Regions from separate parts of the Homo sapiens genome. Here regions 2, 3 and 4 are each linked to region 1. The links are contacts of gene promoters, found by promoter capture Hi-C in human tissues and cell types (Jung and others, 2019). All regions are on one chromosome and are shown on one strand. The core of a region is centred on a gene start or on the middle of the fragment in contact, and the rest is flanking DNA. Distances in the headings are between cores, read along the strand shown.

Region 1 (7,091 bases), core at 1,585-4,084:
AACACCCTGGGAGAAGCCAGAAACCGGATGGCCCCGACTGGGGTGCCTGTGAGCAGAGGGCTGGTGGGTGTGTGCAAAGAGCCTGGCAGGAGTGAGCCACAAGCAGAGCAGAAAGGGGTGCCCTCTCCTGCCTGCCTCACAGCCTCACCTTGCCACGGGGCCGGAAGAAAGGAGCTCACACCCAGAGCCCAGCCCTAGGTGAGCAGGAAGTGTCCGTGAGGGGAGGAGGCCCGAGCTCAAGGAGTAATGAGGAAGCGGGAGAGGAAAGGCTGGGCTGGGCCAAGAGCAGCAGGAAGCTGGAGGGAGGGGAGGCTGTGAGGCTGACAAGGGGGTGCGCTAGAGGCCAAGTCCCAGGAGGGCAGGCAGAGCAAGGCCTGACGCAGACAGCAGGGAGAAGAGCCCAGTGTCCACAGCCAGTGGCCGAGCCCTGCTGCATCCCTAGGTCTGAGGGACAAGCACACATAGCCTGCAAGTCCTGGAGACCCAGGAGCAGATAGACTTTTGGTCTCAGCCTCCAGCCCCATGAAGGCCTCACCTCTCCATCTACTGCCCCTCTTCCCAAGGAGACCCGACCTCCACGGCAGGGACAGGGACTCACCAGGCCTCTCCCACGAGCTCTGCACCCATCCCACACCAGCAGAAGTACAGGAAAGCCTTGCTGGTTTGCAAAGCAAGAAGGTGACTGCTCTCCCCTGCCTACCCCCAGGTGGCGGCTTGGCCCAAAGCTGGGACTACCCTCATCTCACACTAAAAAAAATCTCAATTCCCGGCCGGGCGCGGTGGCTCACACCTGTAATCCCAGCACTTTGGGAGGCCAAGGCAGGTGGATCACCTGAGTTCAGGAGTTCGAGACCAGCCTGACCAACATGGAGAAACCCCATCTCTACTAAAAATACAAAATTAGCCGGGTGTGGTGGGCGCCTCTAATCCCAGCTACTCTGGAGGCTGAGGCAGGAGAATCACTTGAACCTGGGAGGCAGAGGTTGCAGTGAGCCAAGAATGTGCCATTTTACTCCAGCCTGGGCAACAAGAGCAAAACTAGTCTCAAAAAAAAAGAAAAGAAAAAAAAAGAAATCTCAATTCCCACGTCCTCCACAGGTCATGTAGCCATCCCCCTGCCTCCTGGAGAGAGGGTAACTCCAGGAGCCACACCTCCTTTTCAGGTAGGAGGTGCCTAGGCCAGCCTCCCTCACCAGCACCCCAGGCCCACAGCAGGCAAGCACCCCTCTCAGGAGGGCCACCCTCCTCCCCACGGCCCCTTCAAGGCCTCCGTGCCCGACCTTTGTCCATGTTGCTCCATGCCTGACTCTCGCTGAGGTTATCTTATCTCCCAGATGAACTGAGCACCCTGAGGGCCACGACAGTGCCTGCCCTCCCCCAACCCCCTCCCCATGGTGCCCCGTGAAGGAAAGCTCTGTTCTTGCTCACTGAGAGAGCAAATCATTGCCAACTACATGTCCAAAATCAGCCCACTTCTGCCTTGATAACCTCTAGGCCCTCAGCTGCTCTCTAAAACAAAGCCCTGAGGGCCCCTGGGCCAGGGTAAAGGCCATAAAGGGGGGATGGAGGGTGGCAAGGGGATTGCTCAAGGCCAGCTTGGTGGAGGAAGCCAATGCCCAGGCTGGCCAAGTCCTTCCCATCGGCCATGGTTCTCTCCCTCCACCCCTCTCTGTCAGTCATCCAGCTGAGCAGGGCACACGCCTGCAGGTGTGTCCACCACCCCCATACCCCACTCCCCACCTGGAGGATGGAAGTCCCAACACAGAACCCAACTCTCTGTCCCTACAACAGACGCTGGCTCTGGCAACATCGGCAGGGCTCCAGGCCAGCCTAACCACTGGAGCAATGAATGGGCCACGCAGCCACTCTCAGAAGGGTCTGCAAGGACAAGAACGCCTCTAACACTGCCCCTTGTCCGGGGCAGCTGCTGATTCCCCTGTCCTCGGACAGGCCTGGGCTCCTCTGGCCCCCTCCCTGGCAGGCCAGCCCTCCTCTGGGAGCCTTTCCTACCCGCAAGGCACCGCTCATAGCACCAAGAAGGAACCTATCACCACAAACTGCCCAGATCTTATCTGACTCCTTCCATATAAGGGGACACTGTCCAGGGCCGGGCCCCCACCAGCCCGCCCCTCGAAAAGCTCCTCAGGAGCCCCTGAGGATGCACAGACCCAAGAGGATCTGGATGCGGGACACCTGCCGGCTCCCCTCTGCCTGGCCAAGGCCAGCTCCAGAGCCCCTACCCAGTGACCTTGTCAGGTGACTCTCCCCAAGCCTCAGTTTCCCCACAGGGCCCATAGGGCACACCGATCCCCGCTTAGCCCAGGGCCCATGTTCTCGGACTCGGAGCTCGCGCTTCGGCCAACCCCGGAAAGTCGCGGGGCCCTTGGGTCAGAGGTTAGGGGGTCAGGCGCTCCGCTACCTCAGCTCCCAGTGGCCGCTGCCCACGCCGGCGTCTCCGTCCTTGTTGGGGGCCGGGGCTGGCGCGTCCCCCGCGGCTCCCACGTCGGGGCCCGCAGCGGCGTCCCGCACCTCCTCTTCCGCCGCCGCAGGCCCGCCGCCGCCGTGGCTCGAGGGCCGCGACCCTGTCCTCCGGCGCCGGGAGCTGCCGCGGTCGCCCATGGCCTCAGCCCGCACCCGGCCGCAGCCAAGCGTGGGCCCGCCGGGTTCGTAGCGCCCGAGGCGCGCGGCCCCACCTCCGGGCCCTAGACAACGGCCGCCACTGCCCCCTGCCGGCCGCCGTAGCCCGGGTGACCGCCTCACCAGCGCGTTCAACCCGCCCGCGTCGGGCCCGTCGGCCTCAAGGACAACGGCTGCGTTGCTCCGGAGCCGCTAACTAATGGACGGCCGCCTCTCTCGTCCATTTGTAGTCCGCGGCCGACCTGAGGCGGGGCCTGGAGAGGCTGACGGGGCGCAGGGCACCCTGGGAGTCGTAGTCGCCGCGGGCGCGCCGGCGCAGAGCACCCTGGGAGTCGTAGTCGCCGCGGCCGCACCGGCGCAGAGCACCCTGGGAGCCGTGGCAGCTCCCAGGGCCGGGGCTGCGGGCCGCAAGTGCGCGCAGCGGGAACGGACCTTGCATCGCTCCCGCGTGGTCCCGGGGTCCTGTCCGGCCCCACGGAGCGGGATGGTCCGCTGAGGGGTGCGCTGGGCCCCGACTTCCTGGCCGCTGTGCGCCCGCCCCTCGTCCCACTTGTGTACACACGGGGTCTCGGCGAGTCACTCCGGGCAATCATTTAGGAAGCGCCTAGTGCGCCACGGTCCAGCTGTCCGGGCCGGTGTCCGCGGCGGCTCGCGTCGCCCGCCACCCAGCGCGTTGGTTTCTGCGCACGCAGCTTACAGTAACGTCCCTGGCGCGCTTCTGCTCCGCGAGCCCTCTGGTTACCCCGGCAGGAACCTGCTTTTCTTCGCCTTAGGGGGACGTCAGACAAGGGCCAGGTCAGAAGACCAAGCTGGAGAAATGCACCAGGCCCTGCGTCACCGGGACGCCTGCCTTGCACGCGACTCCCAGGCTCTCCACCTCCCCGCCTGCAGAGCCCGGCGAGAGGAGGGCGAGGGCGAGGGCGAGGGCGCAGGCCCCTTGGTGGTGTCTTCTCAGCCCACCCACTCTCTCCACAAGGAGCTCCACGTCCCTCAACTCTCAGGGCCTCCCAGTTTCCAACGTGGGCCAGCCTCTCCAGGATGTCAGAAGTCTGGGCCGCTGGATCGCCGGGACTCAAGAGGCTTCTGTGCATTTGCACGGCCTGTGCAACCGCCCTGTTGTTTTTTGTTTTCTTTTTTCTTTTTTTGAGACAGTCTCACTCTGTCGCCAGGCTGGAGTGCAGTAGCGCGATCTCGTCTCACTGCAACCTCCACCTCCTGGGTTCAAGCGATTCTCCTGCCTCAGCCTCCCGAGTAGCCAGGACTACAGGCGCGTGCCACCACGCCCAGCTAATTTTTCTGTTTTTAGTAGAGACGGGCTTTCACCATATTGGCCAGGCTGGTCTCGATCTCCTGACCTCGTGATCCGCCCACCTCGGCCTCCCAAAGTGCTGGGATTATAGGCGCAAGCCACCGCGCCTGGCCTGTTGTTATTTTTTCTAAAGATGGGGGTCTCGCTATTCTGCCCAGGCTGGTCTCGAACTCCTGGCCTCACGCAATCCTCCCACCTCGGCCTCTGAAGGTGCTGGGATTACAGGTATGAGCCACTGCCCCAGACATCTTGTATGTTAAATGAAGCAACTAATCAACTGTAACAGCCACAGTTGCGGCCCACCTTGGCTTGGTGTGCATATTGCACAGGGCATGGAGTGAGAACATCCTGGATCTCAGGATGCCAGGGTTCACTGAGGACTCTGACTCTAGAAACACCTTCATTCCTCTGGGGTGAGCAGGGGCAAGCAGCACTTCTCTGGAAGCAAACAGGTGCTCCTCCTGAGGTGGGGTCCTCTCCCGTGGGCTGGTCACAGCCTCGCCTCTGAGCTCCGTCCTCTTCCACCACCTCCACCAACAGTGGCCAGCAGGGCTGCCCCCTTGGTTGCCCCCCTGGTGACATATTCTTGTCACCACAGGCCGCTGTGGGTTGCTGCCAACCAGGTATCAGGCAGGCTGGAGCTACCTGGCAGATGCCCTTTGTGTAGCCTGCCGAGTGGGGCCGCCCTCACTGGACCCAAGAGCCCCTCACACATGGGCCTTGGTCGGTCAGGACCAGCCCCATCTCCTACCCAGTCTCTCAGAATATTCATTTGTTGAATGCAGTCGCTGGCAGACACACTCTGTGGCCAGGTAGGCCCAGACCTGTCTGAGTATGGACTGACAGCAAGCTCAGAGAGGTCTGGACCTGGCCACGGAGCACCTCATGCTAGGCAGAGGAGATCAACGACTCAACCTGTGGTCGCGTCCCAACTCAAAGCCGGCAAGTGGCCACAGGAGAAAGACAATGGGAGGGTGGACTGGACCACCAGGGAGGATGGGTCGGGCCTGGTGAGCAGAGCCAGGCTTGGAGCCAATGGGGAAAGCACTGGCTGTGGGCGGGCCATTAAGGAAGGGCTTTGCCACCGGGGGTGGGGGCGTGGCGGGGCAGCAGCTCCAGAGGTGGGTGAAGCCCTGCCCAGACAGGCCCTATACCCTGGGATCTAGGGTGAGGGGAATGGTCAGGGTAGGTGAGGTTGGTTGGGGACAAGGGTGTGTATGGCTGGGTCATCGAGGAAAGCATGATGCAGATCACCCTGCTGGGGGCAGCAACAAATGAGGGGGCCCAAGCCCGAAGCGAGTTGCCTTCCAGGGCTAGTGGAATAAAGGGCTGGAAGTGGGTTGGGGCCTCAGGCTGATCCCAGGGCCTAGGGGCCATGGGTGGGCCAAGAAGGCCTGTGAGAAGCAAGGGTCCCAGGAGAGTTCACAGCCAGTGGTGGTCTATGGCCTGTGCTGCTCATTCAGAGGGAAACTTGTGTCTGTGGCTGGGAGGAACTGGGGGGTCGAGCTCATCCCAGGCCTCAGGGAGGCCACCTCCATCCTTCCACCCACTCTACGCATCAGAATCCTGGAGAAGTAGAAACAGCCAGTCGCTGTTGGAGTCCTTTGGAAGGAGTGAGGCTAGGAGCCTTCCTCCTGGCCATTGCTGTCTGCCATTGTCATTGCTGGTAGTGCTCTCCCAAAGAGAGCACCCACCTGCACCACAGCTCCTCCAAGTGCCAGGCACACAGGCCATGACATGCTGCAGACCTGGTTCCCCTGCTCTCCACCCTAGTGGAGTCTGGGCAGGTCTGTCCCCTGTCCCTGCTAGGGTGTGGGCAGCTTTGCTGGCCCTGGATCTAGGACTGACCTGGTTTGAATGTATGTGCCCGAAGACTTTGGGCCTCTCGGCTCATGCCTGCCTACCTGGTTACCAGGGGACATTGCTGGGCAAAGGGTCCCTGTCCCTTATCTCCTCCACTACTCATTCTGTCTAGAGCCCTTGGGCGATGGTTGCAGAAGCCTCTCTGCCCCCTGGGCACCTCCTCCCTGGAACCGGTCCAACCCAGCTATCCATGGAGGCATCCGCAGACACTGGGGGAGCATATCTGGGAAGCCTGGGGGTCAGAATGTGGGCAGCAGGCCACAGGAAAAGGGCCAGACCTCGAACTCTCCACTGTCCCCATTTCCTGCAACAGCATCTCAGAGGGCTTGAGGTGGCTATCAGGCCTTCCATCACAGCATAAAGCTCCTTCAGGGAGAGAAGAGCGAAGGCACCCAGGCTGGGGAACAGCAGCTCCTACTATACCTACCCTGCCCACTCTGGTCCAACCGTGGGCTTGGCCTGACTTTAGACTGGAACCCCTTAGTGCTCCTGTTCCTGGTGTGGAGCAGATCCACCTACCCCAGGGGAAATGCCAACTACTTTGCCTTCAGACCTGATGCTCCTGTGGTTGGGCCTGCCAAGCCTGCCCTCCCCAGTGGAAGAAGAGGGCCGTCTTGTGAAAGGCCTCAGGCTGACCCTTGCAGCACCAGCCTCTGAGGTACTGCCAGACTGGGAAGACCCTCCCAGCCACCCAACAGCGTGGGCCCAGCCCAGGACACATCAGCCCGACACTCCAAATTCTATCAAGAGTGGCATTTATTCTCCTTGTGGAGGTGCGGTGCTCCGGGGAGCTGGTGCTATTGTGCTTAGGAAGGAGGTCTGTCCGTCCGTCCGTCTGTCCGGCCGGCCTGGCCCCAAATGGGGGCGGAAGAGGGGCACGGCCCGAGTAAAAATCCCGGCCTATTCCGGGTGGGAATATGTACAAGGCGGCGGGGCACAGGCGGGGGTGGGGGCGGGCGGGCCGGCGGCCGCAGCCCCCACCCGAGGGCCCCCGCACCTCGGGCCCTACTTGTAGAATCAGTACAAAATAGGTGCTACCTAAACGTTCCTTCTACCTGAATTCGCTAAGTCGGTTATTGTGCTGCTTAGTTATGGGGGCGGGAGGGGGCCCATGGCTTTCCACGGCGGCGGGGTGTAGGGGGAAGCAGGAGACCCTGACGGGCCCACAGCCCTCCAGCTTTCTCCTTAGGTAGGTAGACAGGAGTATGGGGTGGGGTGAGGTGGGGGCGCCTGTGTGTGCGTGTGCATGCGGCACAGGTGGGCAGGCCCCAGCTTGGGAGCT
Region 2 (6,983 bases), core at 1,921-4,420, 570 kb after region 1:
TGAGACTCCATCTCAAAAGAAAAAAAGCAAATAAACAAACAAACAAAACAAAACAAAACAAAACAAAACAAAAAAACAACCAAACTGATAGCTTTCTTATATACCAGTAACACCTAATCAGAAAATATGAATGGAAAAAAATCTATTCAACAAATAGCAACAAGAAACAAGATTAAACCTTAGAAATGCAGAGTCCCTATAAAGAAAACTGTAAAACATCAAGGAAACACTTGAGGACACTCATGTGGGAAAACATTTTTTGGGTAAGACCTCAAAAGCACAGGAACAAAAGCAAACTAGACAAATGGAATTACATCAACTAAAAAGCTTCTGTACAGGAAAGGAAACAATCAGCAGAGTGAAGAAACAACATACAGAATGGAAGAAAATATTTACAAGCTATCCATCCGATAAGGGATTAATAACCAGAATGCAGAAGGGAGTCAAACAATTCAATAGAAAGAGACAACTAATCCGATTTAAAAACAGGTAAATGATCTGAGTAATTTATCAAAAAAAGACAATATGTATGGCCAACAAGCATATGAAAAAAACTAAAAATAGATCCACCATATGACCCAGCAATTCCACTGCTTGTTATATACCCAAAAGAAAGGAAGTCAGTATATCAAAAAGATATCTGAACATACATGTTGACTGCAGCACTATTCACAATAGCTAAGATATGGAATCAACCGAAATGTACATCAAATAAATGGATACAGAAAATGTGGTATATGTACACAATGGAATATGATTCAACTATAAAAATAAGGAAATTATGTCATTTGCAGCAACAGGGATGGAACTGGAGGTCATTATGTTAATTGAAATAAGCCAGGTACAGAAAGACAAATATTGCATGTTTTCACTCGTATGTGTGAGTTAAAAAAGTTGGTCCCATGGAGGTAGAGGGTAGAATGATGATTACCAGAGGATGGGAAGGGTGGGGTTGGGGGGAGGTATGAGATGAATAGAAGTGGGTTAATGACTACAAACATACAGTCAGATATAATGAATAAGTTCCAGTGTTTGATACCACGGTAAGATGACTACAGTTAATAATTTATTGTATATTTCAAAACAACCAGAAGAAGAGATGTGAAATGTTTCCAACACAAAAAATGATGTTTGAGGTGACAGACATCCTAATTACCCTGATTTGATCATTATACATTGTATGCTATCCTTGTATCAAAATATCACATGTATCCCATAAATGTGTATAATTATTATATTCAATAAAAAAGAACTTTAATAAAAATACAGGTATATTTTTATTATTTCATGTGGGAAGGGCTGTTCTAAGCAAAATACCAAAAGCAAAAAGCAGAGCTCCACAGATCTGCAGCTTATAAATCAAAATCATATGCACATCAAAGCTACCAAACTCCAAAAATGGACCTAAAGGCATGCAACAATTTAGTATATGACAAAAGCGGTTTTTCAAATCAATGGGAAGATCAATGGTGTTAGAAATGGCTATGATTTAGAGGAAAAAAGGAATTCCAAAAGCTGTATTCCAAACTCACCCCACAATAAAATAAATTCCAGACGTATCCAACATTTTACAAGTACCACAGAAAAACAAGAGTTTATTTTAAAAATAATCTTGGAGTGGGGAAAGCCCTTTAAAACACAGCACAAAGCCCAAAATGCCTTAAGGCAAAATATTTGACTCCTAAAAATTTTAAATTTTCTATTTTGAAAAAGCCCAAACCAGAATCAAACACCATAATCAGAGTCAAAAGACAAATTGAGAAGCATGTTTTCAACATACATGGAAAAAAATATGAGCTGGCAAATCACAAAGAAATACAAATGGCGAAAACACAAATGAAGGGATTTCAATCTCACCAATAAACGCAAAACGTCGACCTGGCAGGAATGCAGTGACCTGTCAAAGCCCACAGGACCAGAGTCCCGTCCAGGGCGGGAATGTCAATGGCAATCTCCCACCCTTACCCACTTCGTAGAGACCACCGGACAGAGAAACCTATGTCCAGAAGACAAGTTACGAACTGAAAAATCTGCGAGTACCCACCCGGCGGAGGACGAGTGGAGCGCCCCCTGCCGCCCCTGGTGTTAGTCAAACGACACCAGCTTCCCTTTGATGACAGAAAAAAGGGTGTGCGTGCGTGCCTAAAGCTCTAACGGCATTCAAAAATTCTGAAACTGTTCACAGCTCCTGCCTCTTCATACACTGGCAGAGTGTCGGGGGGGATGACTTTTATATATTTCTGACATGCCTGCATTAGAAGAAGTATTGCATATTATTTTCAATTTTAAAATTAAGCCAATAAACAACAAGGAAAATATTTGCTGTGTTGCAAAGAGTTGGGCTCATTCATTAAAATAGGGCTCTAACACAGTAACAGAAAAGACAGCATCGACAGCAAAATGGGGAGAGGATAAGACACCCGGCAAGTAGCACACTCGACCAACTGCTGAAACGAAAGCAGCTCGTTTTCGTCTTGACGCGGGAAGACTTTTTATAGCTAAGTAAAGTGGCGCTCCCGGTGCGCCGCCGGGGTCTTCATGGGGCTCCTCAGGATGTGCATCAAACAGAAAAAACCTCCATTTTTATATTTTGGGGAAGCTCCCCACCCCTTTCCGGGCCCATCCCAGGGGACGCGAGACCCCGAGGAGCGCGGCAAGAAGAGCGGCCCGGGGGTCCGGACTGCGCCCCTAGGACTCCGGCCATCCTGGCCCTAGGCACGGCGCCCGGTAGAAAGCGCGCGGGAGGGCACGAGGGGGAGGAAGGCCGGAGATCTGAGGAGATCCAAGGTGGGAGGGACGCCGGTCTGACGGGGCCCAAGGGGGTAGGGGCGGGGAAGGGACCGAGGCCGTCCGAGGCGGACGGGGGTGCGGGAGGGCCTGAGGGGGTCCAAGGCCGGGCGAGGGGAAGGGTGGGAACCCCGAACGGGGGAGAGGGCGCGGCCTTGGCCCTGGGGAGGAGGCCGCCGCGCGTCCGTGAGGGGAGGGGACCAGCGTAAACGCAGGAGGCAGTGCGTGCTCGCGGGGAAGAGTCCACGATTCGTGTGGAGGACGCACCGGCTCCGGTGTCCGTGATGGGAGAGGGTCCTGGCCGGCGACGACACGCGCCCCCCACTCACCGTCAGAGCCGCAGCCTCACGCGCGAAGGAACGGCATCCCGCAGCACCTTCAGACAAAGGGCTGCCCCGCCCCGTCTGCGCAGCCGCCAATCCCTGGGGGCTCCTGCCCCTCAGTTCCCGCCCCCACAGCCGAGTTCGCCAATCCTGGAGGGCAAGCATGTTTACGTCATTTGGCCCGCCTGCCCGCCCGAAGCCTTTCTCGGTGACCGACTGCAGGGAGCTCTCAGGAGCCACCGAGAGCCAGACCTCCGCGATCCCTAGAGGGGCCGAACACCTCTGGGCAATGGGCCCGGCCGGCTCCCCGGCCGCACTTCCGGGCGCGGAGGTTACAGCCCATCGCCGAGCCTTACCCGCTCGCAGTCCCGGTTCCCGAGCTCCTGCCGCCGTCGCCCTGTGGAGGACACCCCTGCCGGCCCCGCAGTCCCTCCTCGACTTGCGCTGGCTTCGGCCGTCCTGGAACTCGAGCTCGTTCCCCCCTCCGAGCCTTTTGCCCTTGCGGTTCCCGCTGCTGGGAACGACCTTGCCCTCAGCCGCCTGGCTGGTCCCTGCGCCGCTGCAGTGCGAATGTCGCCTTCTCAGGGGCCCTTTCTCTTCCTTCGTTGCAACACTGAAGTCCTCTTGTTTGATGACTTGCGTGAGGTTATTCCTCCCACTTAGGAGGCTGAGTGCTGCGAGGTCCGAGGCGCAGCCGCTCTTCGCTGTGTCCGGCCCGGCGTGCTCCCGACAGGGGGCGTCACTGAACAGCGACCGTCTCCGTCGCCCACTCGGCCCTGGTGTTTGCTTTTTGGTGTGTTTACACCGCGCACCTGGGGGAGAGGGGCGGGCCTTCACGAGGGCGCGGGCCACACCCGTGTGGAGGCTTCGGGCACAGCCCAGGACCTGACAGCCGCGGCAGGGAGGGTGGGGCTGGTTTGGAGCGGTGTCAGGGGACGGGAAGGCTGACGCCTAGTCCACCTTCTGCTGGCCCCACTCCCGAAGGTCAGGTCCGCGTCGTCCATTGGGCGCGTGGGCGGGCCCAGACTCTCAAGAGGCTTCCCCACAGGGCGGGGCTGGGGGCTGCGTGGGGGCGGCGGGGAAGGCTTAAGGTTAGGGGGTAGGCTTGAAGCGAGTGCCCGGCCCGTGCTGTTGGGAGCGGAGGCCGGGAGGATGTGGCGATAATTCCGTACTTGCCGCGCACCAGGCAGACGCGAAGTCTGTGCTACGCTTCAGCGAACTTAGCAGCCCTTGCGGGCAGGGGTTCGCACTTCACGGAGCTACCATCCACCACGCGCGTTTCGAGCAATGGGCCCGTTGCCTGGCGCACTAGAAGCCAAAACGGTGGCACCAGTTTTTGAGAAAAGAGAAGGCTTTATTATTTCAAGGTCGACGGCCAAGGAGACCGGAGGCATGGCTCAAATGTGGCTCCCACATGTGGGCTTAGGTCAAAGTCGACGGGTTAGGGAGGACAGGTTGGCACACAGAAGTGCTGGCGGGCAGGTTTCAATAGGAGGGCTTTAAACTTGGCCATTTATGGTAAGGTGTGGAATGGCAGGTTTCAGCACCAGATCTTCCAGGATAATGGACCCTTCCCTTCTGAAAGCGTTCCGCCCCTCAAGCTCCGGTCATGTCCCTGTCTTCTTGGCTCCACAGGGAGGAAACGTTGGTTCCGAGTTATGATTTTCCTCCTTTGTGCATGTCCGGGTTACATGACTTTCAGTTTTGGCTCTGCTATACCTCCTGTTACCAACAGAATAGGGTCAGTTTGGGCCAGTCTTGTGGTTACACCTCAGTGTCACAGGATTTCCTCTGCCAAAGGGCTGTGAAGCTCAGGACCAAGGTAATCAAAATTCAGCTCTACTATTGGATTGTCCTGGATTGTTTTAGCAGTTGACAGGGATCAAGCTCTGTCCCAGCAACCTTGATCCCAACAGAGAACTGATGCTCCTAGGACCTTCACCTCAGACCTCAGTGCATCCTGGTTTTTGTTTTTCTTCCTCCTCCACAACTTTTTTATTTTGCAAATGTTGATACATTCATAAAGGTTGAAAGAATAATACAATGAATACCTCCGTGCCCTTCACTTAGATTTAGCAGCTGACATCCTCTCTAGCACGTCCCTTCTGTGTCTCTGTCACTCTTTTTCCTTCAACAGCACAATGTTTATTGAGTGCTTGTGTGCTAAGCACTAAGTGTCGGGGCTACATCAGTGAACAAGCAAGTGCCTAACAAATCCATGTCTTTCTGGACCATACATGTGAATGGAGACAGTAGGCAATACGCAGAATAAATGTAGGAATTACAGAGTGTGTCCAGAGATGGTGAGGACTACAGAAGGTCTGGGCAGGTGCCATTGTGTCTGCTGGTTCACCTGGGCGACATGAGGCAGCAGCTGCCCCCTCTTCCTCTGGCTCCTTCAGCTCCAAGACTAAAGGCTCCAGCTTCTCCTATAGGGCAACAAAGGGGTTTCAGCGCATCCTGGGCTCCAGCTTGAGGTCACAGACCTCAACTTGTCTCTCCTCACTTTACATCCATCTTCCCTTCCCAACTGTCTGCCCTGTTCCAGCATCAGATGCAAAGACAACAGCCTTACAGGAACTGTTAACTATGTGCCACAATGGTGTAAGGCACAGTCCCTGCAACAAATCGTATATGATATATATAATATATATACACACAATTTACGTATCGTTCATGAGTATACAGTTTACTTTTTTTATTTTTTATCCTTTTTTTGAGACCGAGTTTCGTTGTCGCCCAGGCTGGAGTGCAATGGCATGATCTTGGCTCACCGCAACCTCTGCCTCCTGGGTTCAAGCCATTCTCCTACCTCAGCCTCCTGAGTAGCTGGGATTACAGGCGCCTGCCATCATGCCCAGCTAATTTTTGTATTTTTAGTAGAGATGGGGTTTCGCCATGTTTTGACACCAGTTGTTTTGGAAAAACTCAAACTGTTTTTTTTTCTGCTCTCACACTGCCACAAGTGGGATTCAAACCCACACCTACCTTAGGAGACCAGAAAATTGTTTCAGAAAAACTCTCAAACCCTATTTTTCCTCTGCTCTCATACTAACAACACAGAAGACTTATGTAGCCCCAAAATATATGGGGATTTCTCCTCATCAGCAAGCCATCAATTCTACTGGGTGTCCTCCAGTTCAGCTCCTTCACTGTCTACCTGGAGATAGTGCCGGATCCCACAGGATGAGGGCTCAGTTCCCGACTCCCCAATCCCCGACAGGAGTCACAGCCTGGGCCTCCAGAACTGATTGACTTCCTTCAAGTCAGTTCACGACTCCCCAGTCCCCGACGTGAGTCATAGCCCGGGCCTCCAGAACTGATTGACTTCCTTCAAGTTGGGGTTTCCATGACTCCCTCTTTGGGTTTGATTTGCTAGAACAGCTCACGGAACTCAGGGAAACCCTTACTTATGTTTGCCAGTTTATAATGAAGGATATTACAGAGGATACAAATAAAGAGATGTGTAGGGCAAGGCATGGGGAGAGGGGTGCAGAGCCTCTGTGCCCTTGCAGGGCACACAGCCCTCCAGGAACTTCCATGTGTTCGGCTCTCCAGAAGCTCTACAAACCCAGTCCTCTTGGGTTTTCATGGAAGCTTCATGACATCGATATTTTTTCCACCAGGCTATGAGGTGGGACCCTCTCTGGAATGATGGTCTTATGACCCACAATCAGAGAGGTAGGGGAAGATTAGGGTCCTGCGGGCAGGAGGTCAGAGAGATTTTGTTCTCTGAAGCCTAATGCATCCAATGTTATAACAAACGAGTGTAACAAGGGCTATGGCAGTTATGAGCCAGAAACCATACAAACGTGTGTGTGTGTGTGTGTGTGTGTGTGTGTGTGTGTATGGAAAGAGAGAGAGAGACCAGAA
Region 3 (7,755 bases), core at 3,883-6,382, 530 kb after region 1:
ATGGAGACTGGCCACTGACAAGGATGGACAGGTGCTCTGTACTGGAGGGGTCCAGTGGGCTCATGGGGTTGGCGCCAACCATGCCTGGACTAAGAATGGTTTTTCAATGGAAAAAAATACTTTGTGACACATGAAATTAAAATTTCATGGCTGGGTGTGGTGGCTCATTGCTGTAAAACCAGCACTTTGGGAGGCCGAGGTGGGCAGATCACCAGAGCCCAGGAATTCAAGACCAGCCTGGGCAACGTGGCAAAACCCCATCTCTACAAAAAATCTGAAAATTAGCCGGGTGTGGTGTGGTGTGCCTGTGAGCCCAGGAGGTTGAGGCTACAGTGAGCCATGATCGTGCCATTGCATTCCAGACTGGATGATGGGGAGACCTTGTCTCAAAAAAAAAGGAAAATTTCAATATCCATTAAAAAAATATCATTGGAGGCCAGGCTCGGTGGCTCATGCCTGTAATCCCAGCTGCCTGGGAGGCTGAGACATGAGAATTGCTTGAACCTGGGAGGCAGAGGTTGCAATGAGTCGAGATCGTGCCACTGCACACCAGCCTGGGCAACAGGAGTGAAACTCCCGTCTCAAAAAAAAAAAAAGATGGTATTGGAACACAGCCATATACATTTGTTTACGTATTGTGTGACTGCTTTCAAGCCACCATGGCAGGGTGGACAGAAACTTCATGGCCCACAAAATCTAAAATGTTTACTCTCTGGCCCTTTGTGGGAAGAGTTTGCTCACTGCTGAGTCAGAGGAAGTGGCCTCTAAGTCTGCTCCACGCTGTAGGGATCTCAAGTCCAACTGGATCATGTCTGCCCTGATTAAAACCCCACTGCTCCCCCTTGCCCCAGTGGAATGACCAAAATCCTGTGTGTGGCCTTGAGGCCAGCCGCTGTCCCTGCACTTGATCCCCCATCCCTCAATCCCCTATACTCGGGCAGTGCCAGCCCCAGTCCCAGGAATGGCCCACTCCCCTGCCTGTGTCTCATAAGCTGTCTTTTCATGGCTGTGTCTTGATTTGCCTGGGTCCCCGCTTGAGACAAGCCCAAGGGTTCACAGATGAATTGAGGCAAACACAGATTCCCAATGAGAGACGGCGAGAGGTCAGCCTGAGGACCGAGGGCAGGTCCATGCTCTGGGCTCCACACAGGCTTTGCTAAGCAGCTGGGAGAAGCAGAAGGATGGGGCTGTCCCTAAAGCTGCTGTTCCTGCAGGGCCAGGGCCAGTGAGTGAGAAAGGCAACATGGTCCCAGCTGCCCCAGCCCCATCCACATCTGGGGACAGAGAATGCAGGAAGTGGCTGGTCATATTCCTGATCCGATGACAGTGGGGGGACAGTGCCTTCGGGGAGAGAGAAGGGCTTTACCTGGAACTCAGTGAGGGTGGGACAAAGCTGAGTGATCGACCAGATGGCAGGACCCACAAGCATGCACCTTAGAGGGCACCTGGGCTCCTCCCAGAGTCTACTGACCCCACCCCCAGGTACTCCTCTGTACCCTGACATGTCAGAACTGCCCATGGAGGGATGAGGAAGAAATCCAGGCTAGTGGAGGAGACAACCCAAAAACTGCAGACAAGACAAACAGCCAAGCAACCCCAGGCACTCAAAGACAAGGGGAGGTTTCTCAGCAGAGAACAGACTAGACATGGTCCAGAAGTGCTCCACGGAGGCAGGAACAGTCAGCTGGAAGCCAGCTGACCGAAAATGGCTCTGCAGAGACCGAGCACCAAGGCCCCTCCTGGAACACAGTTATGCTGGAAGCTGCAAAGCTGGCTACAACCCCTGCACACACCTGCCCTAGAGGCACCCGGGAGAGGTCCCTGCCACCAACTCCACCCTGGTGACAGCCTCTCTGCTGGGCTCTAGCCTCCTCCCTTGCACCCCTCCACACAGCAGCCAATCACCAGATCACGTCTCTCCTCTGCTGAAAACCCTCAGAAGGGCTCCTCTGTCACTCAGAATTGAGCCAAAGTCCTTAAAAGGCTCTCAGGCCTTGACCTCTGTACCCTCCCCAACGTCGCCTCCCCACAATGATCTCCACCTGCTTGGCTGCAGCCAGGCGGGCCTTAAGCACGTCAGGCCTCCCCACACTGGCCGCCTGAGCCCCGTCCTCCCCACCTTGTGCTGCTCCCCTCAGAGCGCTGTGCCCCCGGCTCCTTCAAGTCCTCGCTCAGATGTCACACCCTCAAGGAAGGTCGCCCCATCAGCACGCAGACCCCACCCTACTTGCTGCATCACACGCCATCCTCTGATGAGCTATTCCAGTTAATTTTTATGATTTATTTTACAATGTTTCCCCTCCCCTCAGCCGCACTAGAATGTCAGCTCCATGGGGTCAGGGATTTAAGGCAGAAGAGTGAAAATGCCCAACCTAAAACACAAGATCTACAAAAGCACCTGGCTACATGGGGCCAGGCTGAGCAACTGTATGTTGTCTACAAAGGGCCTCAACCTGGCCTCACATGGCCACGTCCAGCACCAAAGACAAATGTACAGGGAAGGGGAGGGTGTGAGGTCCAACACTCACCTATAGAAACATGTTTTTAGCTGCTTTACTTCCAAAAAGAAAAAAAGGCATAGCTCTCTTTTTCAATTAAACAGAAAACTACATAATTACGTTCAAACACTCACTGAAGAGCCTGCCTCATGGGAAGGGCAGGGCTGTCGTGGGAAGAGTCAGCTGCACTTTGGCACCATCTCAGGTGCCTGTCCAAGCCGGATCTGAATGGGACTGGTCAAGTGAGGGGTCAGTCCTGCAGTCTGCGCTCACACCTCTTCTCCAGATCTGCCATCTCCTTTAGGACCAGGGCCACGCTGTACCGCAGCTCCTGGAACTTGGCTGTGGGGACCTCAAAGCGGTATGCTGACCCATCTGAAAGCTTCAGCTGCATCAGGACGCTCGGCTGCAGGGAGCGAGCCAGGGCACTGGTGGAGATTGCTACATCCACCCGCCACCGAAAGTCAGCAACATGCGGCAGCCAGGCCCCCTGCTGCTGGGCCACAGAATCAAGGAGGGGCCGCTGGCTCCCAAATACCACGCTGGCCAAGTCCCCGACCAGGTCTTGGGGGATGCAGAGCTCCTGGAGCTGGTCCCTGAAGGTGTCAGGCTTCAGGCTGGTGGGGGGCAGACGGAGGGCCTGCTGGAGCAGTGTGTGCATGCCTGCCAGCAGGGCACCCAGCTGCTCCTCCGGCAGGTTGGCGCTGACCCCAAGACGCTGCACAGCCTCTCGGCAGTCCTCCCCCTGCAGGCTGCTGACCACAAACTTCAGCAACTTTCTGAACGTGCTCCTGTCTAGGTCCCCTAGTAGCCGGGCCATTGCTGCCACCTCTGGAGGAAGCTGGGCCCCCAAGAAACTCACTCGGCCACTGTGACTATCACCAGGATGATGCAGGTATGGAGTTGCAGCCCCCACAGCAGACATTGCTGCTGCTTCCTCTTTGATCAGCCAGCCCAGGAGGTCGGTCCCAGATGCAGATGCCTAGAGTGGGGTGGAGGAGAGAAGACCAGTGACTCTCACATCCTTTGGGCCAGCGAGTGAGGGTTGATATGGTCCCCATCATCAGCATGCTGACAGTGTGAACTACCAATGACAGTCAGTGCTGCGGAGATGGCCCTGGAAGCAGGTGGCAGAGGGGTCCATGTCAGTCCCAGGAGGAGCGGAGGCCTCCCAGAGGAAGTGACATCTAAGGCATGAAGGACAAGCAGGAATTGGCAGAGAAGTAGGGGGCAGGGAGGAGGACCAGGAAACAGCACAAGTTCTCCAAGTAAATTAATAGATGAAAGAATGAACTAGGGGAACGGTCCGGGGAACACAGGGACACTGCAGCTGGCGCCACAGACCACACTGAGACCATTTAACTATTCAATCTTGAATCCTTCACAACAGTGGGCAAGAAGAATTACCATTCTCACCTGACAGAGAGGGAGATAAGGCTCTAGGCCAGGTGCAGTGGCTCAAGCCTGAAATCTCAGCACTTTGTGAAGGTGAGGCCAGCGGATCGCTTGAGCCCAGGAGTTGGAGACCAACCTGGGCATCATAGCAAGACCCCGTTTCTACAAAAAATTTAAAAAACTAGCCAGGCGTGGTGGTGCACGTCTGTAGTCCCAGCTACTCAGAAGGCTGAGAGGACAGAGGATCCCTTGAGCCCAGGAAGTCGTGGCTGCAGTGAGACGAAATCGAGCCGCTGCACTCCAGCCTGGACAACAGAGATGCTGTGAGGAAGGAAGGAAGGAACGAACGAATGGAGGGAGGGGGGAGGGAGGGGAGGCAGGGAAGAAGAAAAGAAAAGTAAAAAGAAATCAAAGCTCTAAACACAGCTGCCAAAGTCAAGGACTGAAGCCTAGACCTGTCTATTCAGAAGTCCCAGCTGTTTCCACCACAGCCCCAACCCCCGGGCTGGAAGAGCTGAGCAACGGCTGGCAACAGAGGCAAGTGCGGCAACTAAAGAGGGTTCCGACGCACCTGAAGGAGCAGTGCAGCAGCACAAGCACCTGCTATGCCAGAGGAAACGCACGTGCCCACCTCAGCACACCAGGTACTGGAGCAGAGCTCAGCGGGGCACAGCTCCTGTCCTCGAGGCACTTGTCAGGCCACTCTGCACAGCGCTGGGGGAGCCCAGGAGCTCCCCACGGGCTTCACGGCGCCCCATTCTCCCTGGGAGTCAACGACCACCCACTGCCAACTCCTTCACCGTCCCGCCAGCACCAGGAGCTCCTTCCCACTCCAAAGAGCCATCCGGGAAGGCCTCCGAGCTGCCCGCTTCCGGTCGCGCGGCTTGGAAGGCCGGGTTCGCACCCTGACTCCGTACCCGCGGCTCTGATGGGGGCGCGGCGTCGCCCGTTCCGGGGCGCGGGGACCTTGGTGCACAGAGTCAAATTGGCACTCGGCCGTCGCCGCCCCCACGGTTCGGGGCCAACCTACCGGCGGGCGCTCCTCCGCGGAAAAGCCCCGCAGTATCCAGAGCTCTCCGAACACAGCGGCGAAGCAGCCTTTCCTAGGCCCACACCCCCAGCTCGGGAGGGAGACTCCATCCTACTCCACCCCACGCTCCCGCTGTCCGAGTCGCCCCCAGCACCTGGCGCCGGCAATCCCCGGCTGATGCAGCCAAAAGCGGGCCTGGTCCCCGGAAGCGCCCTGAGAGCCACTTCCGGGCCGCTCTAGGAAGGCAGCAATGACCGCCCCACTGTGGTCCGCTGGCCCGAGGGGCGGAGCCGAGGCCGCGCCAGGTCCCGCCCCCTCCCCGCCCGGGGGAATCGGGGGTCGCCGGCGGGGTCCCAGACCTCGTCTTAGACAGTTTTTTTTTTTTCTTTCCCCAAAGAAAAAGAAGGCGGTGTTGTGTTTCCGTTTCTGAGGTAGAAACTGCGGCCTGCGCCCGCGTCTCCCTCCCCGCCCGCGCAGAGTGAGGGTAAAGCGGGAGAACGCGTCCCGTGGTCTGGGGTCAGAATTCCAGTCACCTGAGGCTGAGGAGCTCGCTGGCTTTCGTCGGCGTCCGGGTGGGCGGCGGGGAAACCGCGAGACCTTGAGGATCAGCGCGGAGCGGAGCCGAGCGGGCGTCCCTGTCCCGTGTGGACGGTCTGCGCCTCCAGGGTTTTGAGAGCTGCCCCGTTTCCCCTCCTGTCGGGTGGCGTCCGGCGCGCGTGACTCGGTTCCGCTTTGGGCTGCTCTGTTGGGCCCTAGCGCAGGAGCTCGGTCCGAAACAATGGCCGAGCCATTTTATTTAACATGTACTTTACCATAGTTAAAAAATAATATGCCAAAATCATTGAATTGTACAAAATGGGTGAATTATATGGTATGTGAATTATAGCCCAATAAAACTTAAAAAAAAAAAAAAAACTCTGAAAAGGGAAACAACCTAATTAAATGGGCAGAAGATGTGAGTAGACATCAAGGAAGATACAAAGTGGGTAATGGGTACATGAAGCCTTCGGCATTGTTGGCTATTAGAGAAATGCGAATGGAAGCCACGGGGAGGTGCCATTTCATACCATTAGAAGGGTTATAATAAAAATGACAGGTTGGGTGCGGTGGCTCACGCCTGTAATCCCAGCACTTTGGGAGGCGGAGGTGGACAACCAGATCTCAGGAGAACTCTATCATGAGACCATAACTTAAGGGCATGGTACTAAACCATTCATGAAAAGCCACCCCCACGATCCAATCACTTCCCACCAGTCTCCACCTCCAGCATTGGGTATTACCTTTCAGCATGAGGTTTGGGCGGGGACACAGATGCAAACCACATCAGCCATACAATGGAATAGTGTTCAATAATAAATAGGAGTGGAGACTGGGTGCAGTGGCTCATGCCTACAATCCCAGTACTTTATGAGGACTAGGTGGGAGGACCACTTGAGGCTAGGAGTTCAAGACCAGCCTGGGCGACATATCAAGGCTTCATTTTTACAAAATTAAAAAAAAAAACAGGTGTGGTGGTGTGCACCTATAGCAGGGGTCCCCAACCCTCAGGCTGTGGACCGCTACAGGTCAGTGGCCTGTTAGGAACTGACCTCACAGCAGGAGGTGAGGGCAACCTATAGTCCCAGCTATTTGAGAGGCAGAGTGAGGACCACTTCAGTTCAGGAATTTGAGACCAGCCTGGGGAACATGGCAAGACTCCATTTCTAAGACAAAACAAATCAAGTCTAAAAACCATGCTGAGGGAGGATTGTTTAAAGGGAATGGATCTGGGAAGTTTAGAAAGAGACTGCATCTGTAAGGTGTTATTTCTCTTTAAAATATCTGAAGCAAAAAGGTGAAGTGCTATCACTTGTGAGGTCTGGGCGGTGGTTACGTGGCAGACCCACCCCCTCCTGAAGTGAGGAGAGCCAGGAACCTGGGGGTGAGTTTTGGAGACAGTTCCCACCCAAAGGCCAGAGTGCCTGGAGTGCCTGGAGAACTCTCATCTTATTGTAGCAGGATGAGCCACAGACAAAACTTCTCAGACACTGGGTTAAAGAAGGAAGGGGTTTTATTTGGCTGGGAGCTTTGGCAGACTTGTGTCTTAAGAGCTGAGCTCCTCGAAAAAGAAATTACTGGCCCTTTTAAGGGCTTACAACCCTAAAGGGTCCACGTGAAAGGGTTATTATGATAGACTGGGAAAGCATGGAGAACATGACTGGAGGCTACAAGCATCAGCTAACAGAACAGAAAGTTTTACAATGCTTTCTTATACAATGTCTGGAATTTACAGATAACACAAGTAGTTTAGGTTAGGGGTTGATATTATTAACACCAGGGCCAGGTGATGGCACCAAGGTCATCTGGCTATTTATCTTCTGTTTCTTTCTCACTTTTTGTTTTCTCCCATTTCTCCTGTCTTATAAACTAGGCAAGACAGGGGGAGAGGAGGGCAGTAGGAGAAGTGGTGGTCTCCTTCCTTACTATGATCAACATTTGTAAGTTAATTTAGCTTGAAACAATTTCAAGCTTAGATAAAAGGTTGCATGAATAGTGCACCTTCCCAGAGACCCCCATTCAAGGGTCACCAGGTGTCCCTGCAATGTCTCTGAAGGAAAGGAGCCTGTTGCCTGGCAAGAGTGGTGTCATCTCGAAGCAAAATCACTGTGGTGGCCGATGTTAGACTCCTGCATACCAAGGTCTTCACACAAGGCCTGTAGCATTGATAACCCCTCAGAAAGATGCTACCTAACTTCCCCAGCAGTCATGAATTTTGCAAGAAAGTCTAAGACATCACCAGCTGCACATGTTTTTACCAAAAAGCTTGCTATATAAAGGATGCTTTCTGGGGGG
Region 4 (7,779 bases), core at 1,631-4,130, 680 kb after region 1:
GTGGATTCTTTGGTGTTACACAAGATTAGAGCTGTAGTTGAAGGTTTTCCCACACTCTGCCTTCATAGAACTTGTCTTTATAGTGAAATCTCTGGTGTTTTCTAAATTGTGTTAGTCCTTCTTAAGGCTTACCATGTTCACTACACTACACAATTCCTCTCCATGGTAACTATTTGGGTGCTCATTAAAGGCTGTACTCTGACGTTCTGCATGTTTTTGAGATTTCATTAGGATGTGGGCTTTCTGGTGATTGTTAAAATGTGAGTTATCTGAAGCTGTGTCCAGATGAATTACGTTGATAGGTTTTCTCTTTTGTGGGAACATTCAGATATGCTACAGGGTTTGAGGTCAAGTCTAGGATGCTGTCAACATTGTTATACTCCTGGCTTTTCTCCCATGGAATGTTTTTATGGATCACTGTGATTTATCTTCACATGTACTTGACTAGTACTTTCTTAAACATTTTCTTAGTTTTCCTCTACAAAGATTTCCCTGATATTTCTCTAGTAGACTCACAACTCTGTAGGCTTTAAAAAAGTTGGGTGCTTAGTCAATATCTCCTTTTTAACACATACCACCCACTGTGGTTTCATGCTTTGGGGGTTCCTTTTGGAGAGGCAACTCTTTGTTATCTGCCTCACAACCTGAAGCAATACAGCAAGCAGGAAACATGGCATAATAAAAAGACCACAGCCTTTTAATTCTAAAGACCAAGATTCTACATTTCCTCTTCTCCTTTCCAGACAACTTAGTCCCAAAGGTATAAAGTAAAGCTGAGCAAGGTAGCATCCATACCAGGGCTGGGGGAACCAAAGCAGGAAAGAGCAGCAAGGTGGAGGCCATCCATATAGCAAGACTGGCACAGTGTGTCCAGCCTAAGCAGGCTGAAGATGTCTTCATGGAAGGGCAGAGGCAGAAGGGCAAGAGGCAGGGGTTACAGTGAGCCAAGATTGCACCATTGCACTCCAGCCTGGGCAACAGAGCAAAACTCTGTCTCAAAAAAAAAAAAAAAAAAAAAAAAAAAAGATGAAACCCCTATTTGTAAGACTAAAACTATAAAACTCTTAGAAAAAAAAAAGGCATAAATTTTTGTGACCTAGAGTTCGGCAATAGTTTCTTATAAGTGACACCACAAACACAAGCAACCAAATAAAAGATAGGTTGGACTTCAAAATGAAAAACTTTTGTGCTTCAAGAAATGCCATCAAGAAAGTGAAAATACAACCTATAGAATGGGAGAAAATACTTGCAAATCATATATCTGATAAGGGCACAATATCCAGAATATATAAATAACTTTTACGACTTGTCTAAACAGACTACCATAGGCTAAATGGCTTTGACAACAATTTATTTCTCACAGTTCTGGAGGCTGAAGCCCAAGATCAGGGTGCCAGCTGGCCGTTCTTGGTGAAGGTGGCTCCCTGGTTTGCAGACTGTGGTTTTCACACAGCACCTTTGCCTAGCGGAAATGGGAAGCCTCGGGCCCTTCATCCTAATCCTGTCTTGGGCCTCCACCCTCATTACCGCATCTGAACCATCTCAGTGGGGACTGGGTTTCAACACAGGCATTTTGTGGTGGATACAAACATTCTGCTATAGCGCAACTCGACAATAAAAAACATCCCAACTGTAAAGGAGCTGGAAAGGCAGAAAGCTAAGGTCAGTGGGGGATGCTCTGAGCGTCTGAAGACAGCGCAGCTATCCGTAAGGATCACATGCGGCTTCCCTCGCCTCCAGCTGCGCAAGGGCAGGTGCGGGCAAGGAAGTCCCACTGGGGCTTTTGGGGACCCAGCACAGCTCGGGCGAGTGGGTGAGGGTAGAGAGGATGCCTCAGTGCGTCCGGACACCACCGAGACCATAGTTCTCCAAGGGCACCTAGAGTGGATCCAGCTGAGTTCAAGTCCAGACGCTGCCTCAGGACTTCTCAGGACCACACTTCCCGCCCAGGTTGTTTCCTCCCTCTGGGAGCAGGAAAGGAGATGAGTCTTGGGGTGTGCGTGGGACTACTGGCCTGGAGCTGCTGTCAGCTCTGAACCCTCCCCCTCTCTCCAGGAACGCAGTTAGGCTTTTCGCGCTAGTCCCCCGGTAGGGCTGGCCGTCTGGGGCGCTCGGGCTTCCTTCCCTGACGGGCTGCAGGGTCTTTTGTGGCGTTTCTGTCTCCTTCGCCGCAGTGTGATCTATTGTTAACAGGGGTAAATCCACATGGGTCTGCTGCAGCCTCAATTCTTGCCTCCTCAGAAGAAAGAATTTGACGGAGAGGCATGAAGCATAAGGCAGAGGGAAAGATGGAGGCAAGTTTTAGAGCAGGAGTGAACATTTACTAAAAAGCTTTAGAGCAGGAACAAAAGGAAGCGAAGTACACTTGGAAGAAGGCCAAGTGGGCCACTCAAGAGATTAAGTGCACGGTTTGACCCTTGACTTGGGGTTTTATACACTGGCAAGGTTGTGGCGGTCGGGGGTTGGGGAGCATCCCTTCTCCTCTGATTCCTCCCTTGGGGTGGGCTGTCCACATGTGCAGGGTGGAAGTGGGGACACATGCCCAGTGTGTTTACTGGAGTTGTGTGTATGCTCACTTAAGGTGTTTCTTTCCTTACCAGTTGAGTCTTCTAATAAGGTATCAACCGGTTAAACTCTGCCACTTCACCGCCCTGTGTGCATGCTCAAGCCCACTTGCCCAACTCCTAAGATCTCATTGGGAAGCTGCTGATCACCAGCTTCAGGTTTTTTCTATCTGTTGGGAGACTGCCTTTCCCTTGTGCTGGCAGCAACCAATTCTTATTTGAGAGAGACAACTAACAACTACCTGACTGTCCCCTGATGGTCACCTGGTGTTCCTGGTGGGTGGGAGGGCTCTCCTGACTGCCTGACTACCTACTGTAACACTATCACCCCCACTGAAGCTCCCGAGCTCTTGTGGAAGACGTTATCCACTGAGCCTGTTCCCAAGAAGCAAGATTTTGACTTTACTAAACCCTCCACAATCTGTCAGATACAGCGCTGCATGGATAAATAGCTGTGGATGACTGACCCAGGAAGGTGCTGGGGTAAGCGGGCTCCTGAGAGACAAACATGCTCGAGAGAGAACTTTCTATTCAGTCAGCCTTTGAGCAAACGCTTCTGTTACATACAGCAGGCATGGTGTATTAGTCTTGTCTTAGGCCGGGCGCAGTGGCTCATGCCTGTAATCCCAGCACTTTGGGAGGCTGAGGTGGGCAGATCACAAGGTCAGGAGATCGAGAACATCCTGGCTAACACGGTGAAACCCCATCTCTACTAAAAATACAAAAAGTTAGCCAGGCAAGGTGGTGGGTGCCTGTAGTCCCAGCTACGAGGCAGGAGAATGGTGGGAACCTGGGAGGCAGAGCTTGCAGTGAGCCGAGATCATGCCACTGCACTCCAGCCTGGGTGACAGAGCGAGACTCCATCTCAAAAAAAAAAAAAAAAACAGAAAAAAGAAAGTCTTTTCTTTCATTGCTATATTCTCTCATTGCTGAGATTGGGCAATTTATATTTTTTTAAAAAAGGTTTAAGAACCAGGGGAGCTGACAGCATAAACCTCTGTCCCAGGGCTGGAGAAAATGAAATTAGATGTCTCAGCTCAAGGTGAGACAGGAATAAAGGGGCAAATTCCTCCTTGCTCCACTTTTTCTATTTCACATCCCCAACAGATTGGATGATGTGCACCCATATTGGGAAGGGGAATCTACCTTGCTGATTCAAATGCTAATCTCATCCAGAAGTGCCCTTGCCCAGAAATAATGTTTAATCTGGGCACCCCATGCCTAGTCAAGTTGACAGGTAAAGTTAACCATCCCGGTAATTATTATCGTTTTTTCCTACTTCACAGATGAGGGACCTAAATCATATAGAAGCTGAGTAATTTGGCCAAGGTCACACTTCTAATAATTGACCAAACTAGAACCCAGGTAGATTGGTGCCCATGCACTATCATGTACTGACCAGCTGAAAAGTCTAAGACTTTGACCCAAGCTTAGAGATCTTGGGCAAGTCCCTTAAGCTCTCTGAGAATCCATTTCCTTCATTTATAAAATGGAGATAATAACAAAATGTATGTCATCTACCTCATTAGTTAGTTGTAAGATCAAGTGAACTGTTAATAACTGGACATGAACTAATTGTTGTTAGTGTTCTCAGAGCCATATTTGCCAGCAAATGTGCTTTTGATAGCTTAGGACTATCTTTAACTGTTTATGAAAGAAGCATACGCTAAAACCTTGCAAAATCCAGTCTAAGTAAATATGACTGTTATGGGAAGGCCATCTCTGGAGTTGGGCCCTTTATAAAGAAGATTCCAAGGCTCCGATACCTGTCTTCTCTTCAGGAAATGCACATTCCTGTCCTGCATTTTCACTGATTTTTGTGAGATGCTTATAGTCAGGAAAATTTATAGCAGTACCCTTTCCCAAGCATTCACTTTAACTATGGAAATATATGGTTATTTTTTTCCTTAATTGATATCATATTCTTTTTTTTTCATCTTCCTTCTTGGTATATATTTTCTTATAATTTTTCCTAACTTAAAAATTAGATGATAATTTTTTTGGCTTTAATTTCTTGTATGATGGTGTCTTTAATGACTTTGTGCCTTTCATTTATTTACTGACATCCATTCTCCTATATTTTATTTTATTTTTTGAGACAGGGTCTCTATCTTCTAGGCTGGAGTGCAGGGTGGTGCAGTCATGGCTTACTGCAACCTTGAACTTCTGGGCTCAAGTGATCCTCTTGTCTCTGCCTCCTGATTAGCTGGGACTACAGGTACACACCGCTACACCCAGCTAGTTTTTAAAAAATTACTTTTCGTAGAGACAGTATCTCACTGTGTTGCTGAGGCTGTTCTCAAACTCCTGGCCTCAAGGAACCCTCCCAACTCAGCCTCCCAAAGTGCTGGGATTACAGGCATGAGCCACTGCACCTAGCTTATTGTTCTATATTTAAAAAAATCTCTTATACGTTCATTATTCTTAAGATTTCAAATATTCTTTGAGGAAGCAATACTTTAATCAGTAATCTTCACCTTTAGCTCATTTTTTAAAGCAATTTTGTTTGTTTTTTTAGAGGCAGAGTCTCCCTGTGTTGCCCAGGCTGCAGCCTCAAACTCCTGGCTCAAGTGATCCTCTTGCATCAGCCTCCCGAGTAGCTGGGGTTACAAGCACACACCATTGTATCCAGCTTTCTCTTCTACTTAAAAGAGAAAACTCAGAGGATGCAATCACTTCCTCCTCTGAAAGCCATCCTCTCTAGCTGTTCTTGATTTAGCCCCTTCCTCTACATTCCCAGCACAATTGTAATCTTCCACCACCAAGTATCCTCTTTTAACTTTACAGTCTCCCTGTCAAGTTCCTCTGCCTACAAATACCTGTAAGGAACTTTCATCCTAGTAAAACTCTTCTTGGTCCTTTGTCTCCTTCTAGCAATTGCACTACCTTTCAAGTTTACTGAAGGTTTTCTGTGAGTACAATCTTTGCTTTCTCACCTGTTTCACATCTTAACCATTGCCTTCTCATTTATGCACCTTTCTCTTTGCCAGAAATGTGGTGACAGAGATCACTGGTGACTCCTTTATTGCCAGATCCAGTGCATGCCTCAGTCCTTAATTCCCTGGAACTCTGTTGAATTTGTCATTGTGGTTACTTAGTCCCTCTTAAAAGTTTGTGTTATCTCCCCCATAAGATGTTGGTCTCTTCGTTTTTTTTTTTTTTTTTTTTGGCTTTTGCTATTGTTACCACTTGTCACTGTCTCCATGTTAAAATGCCAAAAATGATCTAGTTGCTTTTGCTTTTTTCCCTATTTTCCACCCAGTCACTCCTTACCATGACTCCTTCCCTCAGAGGGCACGTAGCAGTATCTGTCCCGCCAGTCCCAAGGCCCTGTGGGAGGAGACTGGCCTGCATCTCTCTAAGACTTAGTCTGATGCCATGCGCATCTCTTGTTCTGTGTTCAATCAGTAGTCCAGGGGAGAAGCTTCTGCCACTTCAGAGCTTTGCTAAACTATCCTAACTTGTCTAAATCTCCCCAGAATCGCCATCTTTGACCCAAGCTTCCATGCGACAGCCTAATCCATTTCCCTGGACAGGTCTCTTTCCTGGAATGCATCCCAGGCACCTATGCTCCTGGCACCCTTGAGGTCTCTCCTTTGAGTCAGGGTCACCAAGAGGGTTGAGGAAGCAGTACCCAAGGTCCCAGCCTTGGCAGGAGCTGCCCTGGGTAGAGCTGGACTTAGATCTTCTGGTAGTCTCATATAAACCCAGCAGTCAGCCTCTTCTAGAACCCTAGCCAGGGACTGGAGCAGGAAAGGACCTTTGAAATGAAGCCTGCCTTGTCCTGCACCTCCTTTTGGCTTAGATTGAAACATGAATTTCCTAATGGGTTAACTCCTTTAAAACAAGGAGTTGGGGGGAAGGGCGTCATGCACTCCTAGAGAAAGGTACACAGTCGCCCGGCTGGGAACATGCTTGGCGTCGACTCCATGGGCATCTGACTGGGTTTTCCATCTCAGGAAAAATAATTTGAAAGAGGCTTAGCATGAAGGGGAATCAAAGAGGAGGTTGTGATTCGGTCGAAGGTGCCTGGTTTAGTGCTGTAATTGTCTTATTATATATATATATATTTCTTGGAGTAAACATTTTAAATAAACAACACCATTGTCAAAAAAAAATAAATAAAAGAAAGGAAGAAAGAAAGTAAGTTCGTGCTCTTCCTCTGTGAATATTTTTTCCTTGTGCCCCTACCTTCCTGGTAGTTCATTCTTGGTATTCTTCAGGGTCCTCTTTCCTGTCAAAGGTCTTAACAGTGTCAATGTCTCTCAGGGTTCTGTCCTTGCCTTCTGCTCTTCTCTGGCTATACAGTCTTATTAAGAAACCTCTTTTCTTTCATGGCTTCAGCTACTACCTGAACTCCACACCTCATATCTACTTGTGTGTAAGAGGAAATTTCCACCTAGAATTCTCAAAGATCTTACAACTAAAAGTGTACAAAGTCAATTCCTCATGTTCTCCCACCAAATCCCCCAGATCCAAGTCCCTCGTTCCTTTTTCTTGGCCTTAGTTATGGGAACTGTAATCTGGACATCATCTTGGGACCCTTCTTCACAGTTATCTCTCCCACACCCAATCAATACCAAGTCCTAGTTATGCCACCTATATATTTCTTGATTCCATTTCCTTCCTTCCATCATTAGCATTACTTCCTTAGCCCACATCTTCCTTCTTTCCTCGATGGGCTACTGCAGTAACCTAACTATTCTCTTGACATATATTCTTGCTTTTGATCTACTGATCAAAGCCAGGACTCAAAAATCCATCACTGCTCCTAAGTTAAACTTCAAATTCCTCAGTCTTGTATATAAGGTCTGCATTATCTGGCCTTAGTTATAGGAACTGTAATCTGGAATCAACATTCAACAGCCTGATTTCAAATCACCTTCCACCTGTCACTTCTGACCATGCTGGCCTTGCTTTGTGTACTGAAATACACACCACTCCTTCCTCAGAATCTTTGCCATAAGTTGTTTCCTCTGCTACAGCACTCCTCCCACTCTGTTTCCCTGATGAATTTCTACTCACTCTTCAAGTTTTATTTATTTTTAAAATATATATTTTTTGATACTGTCATGCTCTGTTGCCCACGCTGGAGTGCTGTGGTGCTATCATAGCTCACTGCAGCCTCAAACTCCTAGGCTCAAGTAATCATTCCACTTCAGCCTCCTGAGTAGCTGGTACCACAGGCGTGACCCACTGCACCCAGCCACTCTTC

What was found. Contacts are between HindIII fragments. The study calls those that stand out against the background at their distance.
Region 2: the fragment with the promoter of ZNF250 here is called in contact with the fragment with the promoter of DGAT1 in region 1 in 2 of the 25 tissues and cell types used here (lymphoblastoid cells and spleen).
Region 3: the fragment with the promoter of COMMD5 here is called in contact with the fragment with the promoter of DGAT1 in region 1 in 3 of the 25 tissues and cell types used here (dorsolateral prefrontal cortex, lymphoblastoid cells and pancreas).
Region 4: a contact is called between a fragment that was not itself captured here and the fragment with the promoter of DGAT1 in region 1, in 2 of the 25 tissues and cell types used here (lymphoblastoid cells and spleen).

Annotation. Positions count from the first base shown.
Region 1 is chr8:144,324,018-144,331,108 of GRCh38, forward strand. DGAT1 (diacylglycerol O-acyltransferase 1) reads right to left here and starts at 2,835. Exons shown (of 17, transcript NM_012079.6): 1 at 2,420-2,835. The coding sequence starts at 2,619. It overlaps SCRT1 (scratch family transcriptional repressor 1), which reads right to left. Exons shown (of 2, transcript NM_031309.6): 2 at 6,548-7,091. RefSeq lists silencers at 2,462-2,531, 2,542-3,261. The HindIII fragment of the contact is 53,552 bases long and covers 1-7,091 here.
Region 2 is chr8:144,898,283-144,905,265 of GRCh38, forward strand. It overlaps ZNF250 (zinc finger protein 250), which reads right to left and starts at 3,171. Exons shown (of 6, transcript NM_001109689.4): 1 at 3,117-3,171. LOC124902042 reads left to right here and starts at 3,342. Exons shown (of 1, transcript XM_047422534.1): 1 at 3,342-3,999. The coding sequence starts at 3,400. The coding sequence ends at 3,999. RefSeq lists enhancers at 2,517-3,121, 3,122-3,724, 3,725-4,328 and silencers at 2,855-2,964, 4,025-4,104. The HindIII fragment of the contact is 10,274 bases long and covers 1-6,983 here.
Region 3 is chr8:144,847,916-144,855,670 of GRCh38, forward strand. It overlaps COMMD5 (COMM domain containing 5), which reads right to left and starts at 5,133. Exons shown (of 2, transcript NM_014066.4): 1 at 4,924-5,133; 2 at 2,261-3,480. The coding sequence starts at 3,423. The coding sequence ends at 2,749. RefSeq lists silencers at 2,990-3,141, 5,174-5,363 and enhancers at 4,348-5,196, 4,774-5,103, 5,654-5,753. The HindIII fragment of the contact is 6,847 bases long and covers 1,280-7,755 here.
Region 4 is chr8:145,005,845-145,013,623 of GRCh38, forward strand. ZNF252P-AS1 (ZNF252P antisense RNA 1) reads left to right here. Exons shown (of 1, transcript NR_026974.1): 1 at 1-202. Among named protein-coding and RNA genes, the nearest start is that of ZNF252P-AS1, 6.9 kb to the left of the region's middle. The HindIII fragment of the contact is 4,220 bases long and covers 771-4,990 here.